Regions from separate parts of the Homo sapiens genome. Here region 2 is linked to region 1. Evidence: promoter capture Hi-C in human tissues and cell types (Jung and others, 2019). All regions are on one chromosome and are shown on one strand. Each heading gives the region's core, a stretch centred on a gene start or on the middle of the fragment in contact. The rest is flanking DNA. Distances are from core to core; before and after follow the strand shown.

Region 1 (5,291 bases), core at 1-2,500:
GGAATAAATTTTTTTCCTGTGATGTTTCTTGGGACATCAATATTTGAGTATATAAGGCTTTTTCTTTAATCCATTAACTATAAATTTTGAAGAAAATGCATGAGAAAATGGAGAAAATGTGTTTTTTTTTTAAAAAAAATTGAGATTAAGGTCTCATTATGTTGCCCAGGCTGGACTCAAACTCTTGGGCTACAGTAATCCTCCCACCTCAATCTCCAGAGTAGCTGAGACTACAGTTGCCTGAAACTGTGCCTGGCAGAGAAAAAAGCTTAAAAAAATAAGAACATGGTAATGATTTGATAATATTCAGTTACATTTACTTTTGATTCTTGTAATTCAAGTAAACTCAATTTTATGTCTGATATTTTCTCACAGCTACCTATATATTTCTTCCCAATTTAAAATATATTATTTTATTTTATGCCTAGCAAATATCTTTACAGTATAAATATTTACGCTCATGAAAGTACGTAGCCAGTTATTTCTTAGGGAGAATTTTTTCCCTATATTTTGATGGGCTTCCAAAAGTATTACCAGTAATTCTCAGTAATTACAATTAGGTCAGTTACCCAGGAAAAGGTAAGTCTGTAACATTCTTTGGACTACCAATTTTCTTTTACTAAGTTTCCTGAACAATAAATATTTTTGAAATATAATGTATTAATAGAATTCTGGAGTACTTCCATTATTTCCAGTCAATGCAAGTTGGAATGCTTCTACTTTATGCTAAAAATATTAATGTTTCTTTTTCACTTGGGTTCTTGTTAAGTGTGATTCTGATAATGTATACAATCACATATCATTTTTAGGTTTCCATAATATCATGAAAATTTGATTTTTAAGCGTTACATGTCAACAACCTGGTAAAGTAATCCTTCCATTCAGGATCATTCAAGGAATCTATTTAAAAATATTTTCCCCAAATTATAGCTGAATCAGAAAGTTTAAATTATTATATTATATGATTTGTCAAAAAGAGAAACTCCTAGGGAGACATCTCCATAATAGGTGTGTTGGGGGAACAGTAATCTCAAAGCAGATGCACTAACATTATAAGATTAAAATCATTGTTTATAGAAACTTCCAATTCATTTAAAAGCTCATTGGGGAAAAAAAAGCTCATTGGGAAAAAAAAAAAAAGCTCACTAAAGTTTCTATTAAAGCGAATACGGTAGATTTCCATCCCCTTTTGAAGAACAGTAGGTGGAGCTATTTAAGATATAAAAACGAAATATCCTTTCTGGGAGTTCAAGATTGTGCAGTAATTGGTTAGGACTCTGAGCGCCGCTGTTCACCAATCGGGGAGAGAAAAGCGGAGATCCTGCTCGCCTTGCACGCGCCTGAAGCACAAAGCAGATAGCTAGGAATGAACCATCCCTGGGAGTATGTGGAAACAACGGAGGAGCTCTGACTTCCCAACTGTCCCATTCTATGGGCGAAGGAACTGCTCCTGACTTCAGTGGTTAAGGGCAGAATTGAAAATAATTCTGGAGGAAGATAAGAATGATTCCTGCGCGACTGCACCGGGACTACAAAGGGCTTGTCCTGCTGGGAATCCTCCTGGGGACTCTGTGGGAGACCGGATGCACCCAGATACGCTATTCAGTTCCGGAAGAGCTGGAGAAAGGCTCTAGGGTGGGCGACATCTCCAGGGACCTGGGGCTGGAGCCCCGGGAGCTCGCGGAGCGCGGAGTCCGCATCATCCCCAGAGGTAGGACGCAGCTTTTCGCCCTGAATCCGCGCAGCGGCAGCTTGGTCACGGCGGGCAGGATAGACCGGGAGGAGCTCTGTATGGGGGCCATCAAGTGTCAATTAAATCTAGACATTCTGATGGAGGATAAAGTGAAAATATATGGAGTAGAAGTAGAAGTAAGGGACATTAACGACAATGCGCCTTACTTTCGTGAAAGTGAATTAGAAATAAAAATTAGTGAAAATGCAGCCACTGAGATGCGGTTCCCTCTACCCCACGCCTGGGATCCGGATATCGGGAAGAACTCTCTGCAGAGCTACGAGCTCAGCCCGAACACTCACTTCTCCCTCATCGTGCAAAATGGAGCCGACGGTAGTAAGTACCCCGAATTGGTGCTGAAACGCGCCCTGGACCGCGAAGAAAAGGCTGCTCACCACCTGGTCCTTACGGCCTCCGACGGGGGCGACCCGGTGCGCACAGGCACCGCGCGCATCCGCGTGATGGTTCTGGATGCGAACGACAACGCACCAGCGTTTGCTCAGCCCGAGTACCGCGCGAGCGTTCCGGAGAATCTGGCCTTGGGCACGCAGCTGCTTGTAGTCAACGCTACCGACCCTGACGAAGGAGTCAATGCGGAAGTGAGGTATTCCTTCCGGTATGTGGACGACAAGGCGGCCCAAGTTTTCAAACTAGATTGTAATTCAGGGACAATATCAACAATAGGGGAGTTGGACCACGAGGAGTCAGGATTCTACCAGATGGAAGTGCAAGCAATGGATAATGCAGGATATTCTGCGCGAGCCAAAGTCCTGATCACTGTTCTGGACGTGAACGACAATGCCCCAGAAGTGGTCCTCACCTCTCTCGCCAGCTCGGTTCCCGAAAACTCTCCCAGAGGGACATTAATTGCCCTTTTAAATGTAAATGACCAAGATTCTGAGGAAAACGGACAGGTGATCTGTTTCATCCAAGGAAATCTGCCCTTTAAATTAGAAAAATCTTACGGAAATTACTATAGTTTAGTCACAGACATAGTCTTGGATAGGGAACAGGTTCCTAGCTACAACATCACAGTGACCGCCACTGACCGGGGAACCCCGCCCCTATCCACGGAAACTCATATCTCGCTGAACGTGGCAGACACCAACGACAACCCGCCGGTCTTCCCTCAGGCCTCCTATTCCGCTTATATCCCAGAGAACAATCCCAGAGGAGTTTCCCTCGTCTCTGTGACCGCCCACGACCCCGACTGTGAAGAGAACGCCCAGATCACTTATTCCCTGGCTGAGAACACCATCCAAGGGGCAAGCCTATCGTCCTACGTGTCCATCAACTCCGACACTGGGGTACTGTATGCGCTGAGCTCCTTCGACTACGAGCAGTTCCGAGACTTGCAAGTGAAAGTGATGGCGCGGGACAACGGGCACCCGCCCCTCAGCAGCAACGTGTCGTTGAGCCTGTTCGTGCTGGACCAGAACGACAATGCGCCCGAGATCCTGTACCCCGCCCTCCCCACGGACGGTTCCACTGGCGTGGAGCTGGCTCCCCGCTCCGCAGAGCCCGGCTACCTGGTGACCAAGGTGGTGGCGGTGGACAGAGACTCCGGCCAGAACGCCTGGCTGTCCTACCGTCTGCTCAAGGCCAGCGAGCCGGGACTCTTCTCGGTGGGTCTGCACACGGGCGAGGTGCGCACGGCGCGAGCCCTGCTGGACAGAGACGCGCTCAAGCAGAGCCTCGTAGTGGCCGTCCAGGACCACGGCCAGCCCCCTCTCTCCGCCACTGTCACGCTCACCGTGGCCGTGGCCGACAGCATCCCCCAAGTCCTGGCGGACCTCGGCAGCCTCGAGTCTCCAGCTAACTCTGAAACCTCAGACCTCACTCTGTACCTGGTGGTAGCGGTGGCCGCGGTCTCCTGCGTCTTCCTGGCCTTCGTCATCTTGCTGCTGGCGCTCAGGCTGCGGCGCTGGCACAAGTCACGCCTGCTGCAGGCTTCAGGAGGCGGCTTGACAGGAGCGCCGGCGTCGCACTTTGTGGGCGTGGACGGGGTGCAGGCTTTCCTGCAGACCTATTCCCACGAGGTTTCCCTCACCACGGACTCGCGGAAGAGTCACCTGATCTTCCCCCAGCCCAACTATGCAGACATGCTCGTCAGCCAGGAGAGCTTTGAAAAAAGCGAGCCCCTTTTGCTGTCAGGTGATTCGGTATTTTCTAAAGACAGTCATGGGTTAATTGAGGTGAGTTTATATCAAATCTTCTTTCTTTTTTTTTTTTAATTGCTCTGTCTCCCAAGCTGGAATGCAGCGGTACGATCATAGCTCACTGCAGCCTCAAACTCCTAGGCTCAAGCAATTATCCCACCTTTGCCTCCGGTGTAACAGGGACTACAGGTGCAAGCCACCTACTGTCTGCCTATCTATCTATCTATCTATCTATCTATCTATCTATCTATCTATCTATTACTTTCTTGTACAGACAGGAGTCTCACTATGTTGAGCAGGCTGATCTGAAACTTGGGCTCAGGCTAGCCTCCTGCTTCTCCCTCCCAAACTGCTGGGATTACAGGCGTGAACCACAGTGCCCCGCCCTTATCAGATATTCTTTTCTGGCTGGGCGCGGTGGCTCACGCCTGTAATCCCAGTACTTTGGGAGGCCGAGGCGGGTGGATCACCTGAGGTTGGGAGTTTGAGACCAGCCTGACCAACATGGAGAAACCCCGTCTATACTAAAAAAATACAAAATTAGCCGGGCGTGGTGGTGCATGTCTGTAATCCCAGCTACTTGGGAGGCTGAGTCAGGAGAATTGCTTTAACCTGGGAGGTGGAGGTTGCAATGAGCTGAGATTGTGCCATTGCACTCCAGCCTGGGCAACAAGAGTGAAACTCTATCTCAAAAAAAAAAAAAAAAAACTTTATCCTCTAGTTTCATCCATTGATGACACTTGCTTTAATCACTTATTACAATCACCTCCAAATGAAGATTTTATAATTCCATTGTTTCTTCTACAGTTGTTAATTGGCTTTCTACCTTGAAGAAGAGTTTTATATTCTCTATATATGTTTGTTTCTATGATTCTGGAAGCATGGTTTTCTATTTTATTCAATGGCCTGTAATCTGTTAATATCAATTATTTATTTTGATGCTGAAATTGTCCCAGGATTGGCCTTTGGGACTCCCTTTAGGCTGATTTCTATGTCCTTTCTGTTACAGCAAGCTTGGGATTATATCCAAGATTTGTAATTCCAATGTACTTACTTCTGTCAGTGTAAACAAAGTACGATTTCTGGACTAGATGACTTGGGCATTGTGGGGGAGGTGGAAATTAGAGGTATTCTCTGTTTTTCCTGTAGGATCTTGCATTTCTTCCTCTTGCTGCTTGTCTCTTTGTGTCGGGAACAGGCCCCCCAAAATCTGGCCATAAACTGGCCCCAAAACTGGCCATAAACAAAATCTCTGCAGCACTGTGACATGTTCATGATGGCCGTAATGCCCATGCTGGAAGGTAGTGGGTTTACCGGAATGAGGGCAAGGAACACCTGGCCCGCCCAGGGCAGAAAACTGCTTAAAGGTGTTCTTAAACCACAAACAATAGCATGAGTGA
Region 2 (5,291 bases), core at 2,792-5,291, 140 kb after region 1:
AGTAACTATAAGTACCCTATCACAAGGTAGCACAAAACCACAAGAATTAGGAAGTCAAGAAAGAAGAGGGCAAAGTAGATCAGCTCTTGTAAAATAAAAGGAACCATATGAAGGCTAAAAAAGAAAATCAAGAATTTATATAGAAAAAATGGACCAGAAGTCAAGACTCCTGGTTCTGATCACATAACCTTGGGAAAGCTACCTAACTGTTCAGAGTCTATATATGCTACAGAATGGAGATGATACACATCCTGCCTGTCTCATAAGGCTTCTCTGCATATCAAATAGGGTCATATATGTTAAGGCACTATGAAAATTGTAAAACAGCACAAATGTAAGGTAATAGTATTATTGCTTACGTTGTCCCTCACCTTCTAAAGAGATTAAGTATGTGGTAGTTTAACGGGAAGCAAACTTTCCTCCCTATTAGTTAATGCCAAAGCTATTGGTCATTTTGAACTCCAGGGGAGGAAACAAAAACAAAAAACACCTAGCAAAGACAAGTCAACCCTCAATCTCTGGTCTCAGTTTTCTAATGAGAAATTCCTTTATATCTATTTCATCTTTTTCTCTAATATTCAAGAGACCAAACTAAAAGGCTCTTTTGTATTCTTACCTTTGGAAGCTTCAGGAGCAAAGTGCCAGGAGGGAGAAGGCATCCAATATTGGAAAGAAATGGAAGGAAGAAAAGGAATCACATATGGTTCTTGTTACTGTAGACAGTCACTCAGTCACCCAAACTGTTAAAGACTCTTTCCAACCCTTATTAATTATGTACTTAGAACTGGAAACTGCACCTTAAGGCAGTGCCAGAATCTGTTCAAAAGTATCAAAATGGGCCCAAATCAAGCTCTGTCACTTTAATCTCATATCCCTAACAAGTTATACTGATACAAAATACCTACATACAACAGTTCTCTTTCCCAAACCAAGTAACTCCATAATATTTAATACAAAAACATCTTTTCTTTCTTTTGAATGGGAAAATCCATCAGTCTTCCATCCAACATACCCTTTCTATCTTCACCCAGGGAAGGGAAGGGAATAGGAAACCTAATGAAAAAATATTCTAAGCCCTACACTGGACCTTTGCATCAAAGAGGAAGGTACTCACTCTTGGTCTGGGCAGAGAAGGTAAGGGTAAGTTTGGCGAAAAGTTCATTGTTCTCAAAGCGGTCCTCCTTCACCTTTGTCCAGAAGCAGTCCTGGGAGAGGTCCTCAGCCACAAGCTGTGGATAAAGGCAGGGTGTTAAGAATTAGTAAACTGAGCCCTGTACTTTCCGTCCTAGAAAACGGATGAGGCTGTAAAATAGGTGGCTGGCTGATTATCAGCAATGTCTTACTAGAATAAGACTAACTTGAGGCACAGAATAGCTGCAGTGGGATTAGGAGAGAATACTTCCAGTTCATCTGTTAATTGGTGATTATTCAAGAACTAGATTCATATATATACTACGTATCCTCCTCCTAACTCCAAATCCTCTAGCTTCATAACCATTAAGGCTTTATTTCAGAGAAGTCTTGCTCATCATTAAATTTCTCCCACCAGTTTGGCTAACTGTGCCAAATTTGCTCATTTTATGAGCAAATCCCTAAGGTCCTTTATATTAACTTGGTTTCTAGAAGAAAAAGGCTAACTCACTCAGAATCACAGGCATCTCAAACACATCATGGGAACAATACTGTGCATGCAAATATGGCCTATGTAGGCCAGGTGTGGTGGCTCACGTCTGTAATCCCAGCACTCTGGGAGGCCAAGGTGGGCGGATCACAAGGTCAGGAGTTCGAGAGCAGCCAGACCAACATGGTGAAACCCCATCTCTACTAAAAATACAAAAATTAGCCAGGCATGGTGGCACACGCCTGTAATCCTAGCTACTCAGGAGGCTGAGGTTGCAGTGAGCAGAGATTATGCCACTGCACTCCAGCCTGGGCAACAGAGCAAGACTCCAACTCAAAAAAAAAAAAAAAAATGGCCTGTGTAACTCACATCCTGCGGAATTGGGATAGGAGAGTGGATTCATAAATCCATGACTTTGGGATCAGCACAATTATCAGTAGTTTGCAGACTGGTGAATGACTATTATCAAACTGTGTGTTACCATGGTATTCACAGCCTCAGAGAAAAGGCAAAAAACATTAAGTTAAGATTAAATTCAGAATACAGGGTTCACAGAACTCTCCGTGGTGATGTATGGAATAAAGAAGATGCCTAATATCTCCTGAATAAACATAAGCATGAGTGAAGCTTAAAGATAGAAAGATGAAAGCCTTAAGGCGTAGCCCATCCATGCACAAAATACAAAGTAGAAAACTGAAACTGTTTCTTAAGATTGACTGGTGGGCCGGGCGCGGTGGCTCACGCCTGTAATCCCAGCACTTTGGGAGGCCGAGACGGGCGGATCACGAGGTCAGGAGATCGAGACCATCCTGGCTAACACGGTGAAATCCCGTCTCTACTAAAAATACAAAAATTAGCCGGGCGTGGTGGCGCGCGCCTATAGTCCCAGCTACACGGGAGGCTGAGGCAGGAGAATGGCGTGAACCCGGGAGGCGGAGCTTGCAGTGAGCCGAGATCGCACCACTGCACTCCAGCCTGGGCGACAGAGCGAAACTCCGTCTCAAAAAAAAAAAAAAAAAAAAAAGATTGACTGGTGAAGAAATAGACAGAAACTCTTACCTTGGACCAGTTTGGCCTCCGGAGCTGCACCTCTGGCTTATAAAGCTTTTTGGGGGTTAATCCAAATGGCAGAACTGGGGCTGCAGGAACTCCAAATCCAAATGGGGGAGGTGGAGGCATACCCATTCCGGGTGGAGGTGGAGGAATGCCAGGGCCTCCGGGAAATGGAGGAGGTGGAGGGATTCCAGGACCACCAGGAAGAGGGGGAGGAGGAGGTGGCATTCCTGCTTCTCCAGGCAAGGGAGGAGGTGGGGGGGGAATTCCAGCACTCCCAGGCAAAGGAGGTGGTGGTGGGGGGATTCTAGCACTCCCAGGCAAAGGAGGAGGTGGGGGGATGGCAGTACCTCCAGGCAAAGAAGAGGGTGAAGGGATGCCAACACCCTCAGGCAAAGGAGGGGGTGGAGGGATGGTAGCATCCCCAGACAAAGGAGGGGGTGGAGAGATAGCAGTACCTCCAGGTAAAGAAGGGGGTGAGGAGATGCAAACACCCCCAGGCAAAGGAGGTGGAGGAGGAGGAGGAGGAGGAGGAGGAGGAGGAGTGGTACTATCCCCAGGAGCAGGTGGTGGTGGAATAATAGTGCCAGAGTCACCAGGTAAAGGAGGGGCAGGGGGAACAGGAGCACGACTAGGAACAGAAGGAGGTACAGTAATAGCTGCCGCAGAGAGGGAAGCCATTTCTTTCTTGGCATCTTCCAGTTCCTTTGTCAGCTTGGCAACCTACAGAAATAACATCAATGTGAGTACTTCTCACCCCACTTCAGGGACTACTGGGACTGGAAGGAACCTAATAAACTACTTAATCCAAACTTCTCATGTTACAAATGGAGGAACTGAGAGGAGTCAGAGAGATGACATGATCACCTAAAGTCACACGGCTTGGCAGCAGAGCCAAAACTAGAATTCAGGTTTTCATGTTCTTAGTTCAGCATGCTTTGTATTAAGAAGACAATTTCAACCTTTATGTTAAACCCTCCCTTGATTAGAAAATGTAAAGGTCAAGTAAATTAAATGTTCTAGTTATATAACTAATATATGTGCTACACAGATGATTATATAACCACATAAGTAATCAAGTTATCAGACATCAAAGATCATTTAAGTATTTACTACTGCAGAGAGAGTGTGTAAGGATAAATCTGTGCAGAGGTGACTAAAATAACAGGAAATTAGTCAATTTTTAACAGTTTAGTTTTTATTCCTAATTTATTAGGAGACTTATTACTTTTATTTCTGGGTGGTAATGAAACTTACTTTATTCTTAATGTTTTTCTGTATTTTCCAGATTTTCTGTCTTATGTATTACTTACCCCCAACACAAACCAAAAACCAGTATATTATTTTTAAAATATGCACCATGTAACTAGATTACCTATTAGTAGCTGAACCCTCCCTAGGAGCGAGATGACTGACTCCTGTTCCAAGCCATGTGCATCCTGAGGTTACAGGTCATTCTGCCTTCCCTGCTCAGGCATTACCTCTCCTGTGAGCTGGGACACCTCTGCTTCCAGGTCCTGTTTCTCTGTGGCAATTTGCTGCTTTTCAGAATGCAGTGCATCTTTTTCTCCCTGAAGATCTTGAAGCTTCTGCTCAAAGTCACTTTCCATCTTTTTCATTTCCACCTGTAGCTCATGTCGGGCTGTTAACTCTGAGTCCAACTAGAGAAAAAACGAATCAGGCTCCCAGCAAGCTCTCCATCTCAGTAAGAAGCACAAGTATTATTACCCATAATTCTCCCTACCTCCTCTTTTGCCTGGGGGTGCTGGAATCCCCCCACTGCCTCCTGTTCTGGGCCAGTACTTGATTTACAGAGCTCATAAATCCAGGCCATGCTCGGGGGAAAAAAGCACCATGATTCTGACCTTAAAATCAAGGTTTGGCTGGGCGGAGTGGCTCACACCTGTAATCCCAGCACTTCGGGAGGCCGAGGCAGGTGGATCACCTGAGGTCAGAAGTTCGAGACCAACCTGTCCAACATGGTGAACCCTAGCCTCTACCAAAAATACAAAAATTAGCCGGGCATGGTGGTGGGCACCTGTAATCCCAGCTACTTGGGAGGCTGAGGCAGGAGAACTGCTTGAACCCAGGAGACAGAGGTTGCAGTGAGCCGAGATCGCGCCACTGCACTCCAGCCTGGATGACAGAGTGAGACTCCGTCTCAAAAAAAAAACAAATAAAAATAAAAATGAAAATAAAACAAGGTTAAAGGAGAGGGGAATCAGTTCATTTCCACAGATTCCCTATTTTTATAGTTAAAAAAAATAAGATTTTAAAGGTATTTAACGAGGACGACCATGGTAGTACAATCCCAATATTCTCTAGGATCAAAAACCTATTAACCACAATAAACGTTCTTAAAAACTGAAGAGAAAAAGAGAACTCAGACATCCTCTAGTTCTATTGCTCTAAGGACCCCAGTTCCTATTGTTCTAGGGGTAAGAGGCCTAAAATGCCAAGCAAACCTGAGAGTGCCATTACTATTACATGAGTATCATCTGTCTTTCTTTTCCTGCCCAGTAGCCCAAGAACTGAAAGTCCACCACTAGAGCTCCCTATGAAGACATCCATATCACTTTCTCCAATGACTACCCTATACTGGAAAGGTTTCCCCTGG

Evidence for each region. Contacts are between HindIII fragments. The study calls those that stand out against the background at their distance.
Region 2: a fragment that was not itself captured here is called in contact with the fragment with the promoter of PCDHGA12 in region 1 in 1 of the 25 tissues and cell types used here (adrenal gland).

The regions. Positions count from the first base shown.
Region 1 is chr5:141,429,257-141,434,547 of GRCh38, forward strand. PCDHGA12 (protocadherin gamma subfamily A, 12) reads left to right here and starts at 1,251. Exons shown (of 4, transcript NM_003735.3): 1 at 1,251-3,927. The coding sequence starts at 1,504. The region is part of intron 1 of PCDHGA1 (protocadherin gamma subfamily A, 1); the gene reads left to right. The region is part of intron 1 of PCDHGA2 (protocadherin gamma subfamily A, 2); the gene reads left to right. The region is part of intron 1 of PCDHGA3 (protocadherin gamma subfamily A, 3); the gene reads left to right. It also overlaps PCDHGB1, PCDHGA4, PCDHGB2, PCDHGA5, PCDHGB3 and PCDHGA6, and 10 more genes. RefSeq lists an enhancer at 1,147-1,286. The HindIII fragment of the contact is 7,635 bases long and covers 1-5,291 here.
Region 2 is chr5:141,570,812-141,576,102 of GRCh38, forward strand. DIAPH1 (diaphanous related formin 1) reads right to left here. Exons shown (of 28, transcript NM_005219.5): 15 at 4,156-4,335; 16 at 2,681-3,397; 17 at 1,115-1,229; 18 at 617-625. Among named protein-coding and RNA genes, the nearest start is that of DIAPH1-AS1, 15 kb to the left of the region's middle. The HindIII fragment of the contact is 3,111 bases long and covers 2,487-5,291 here.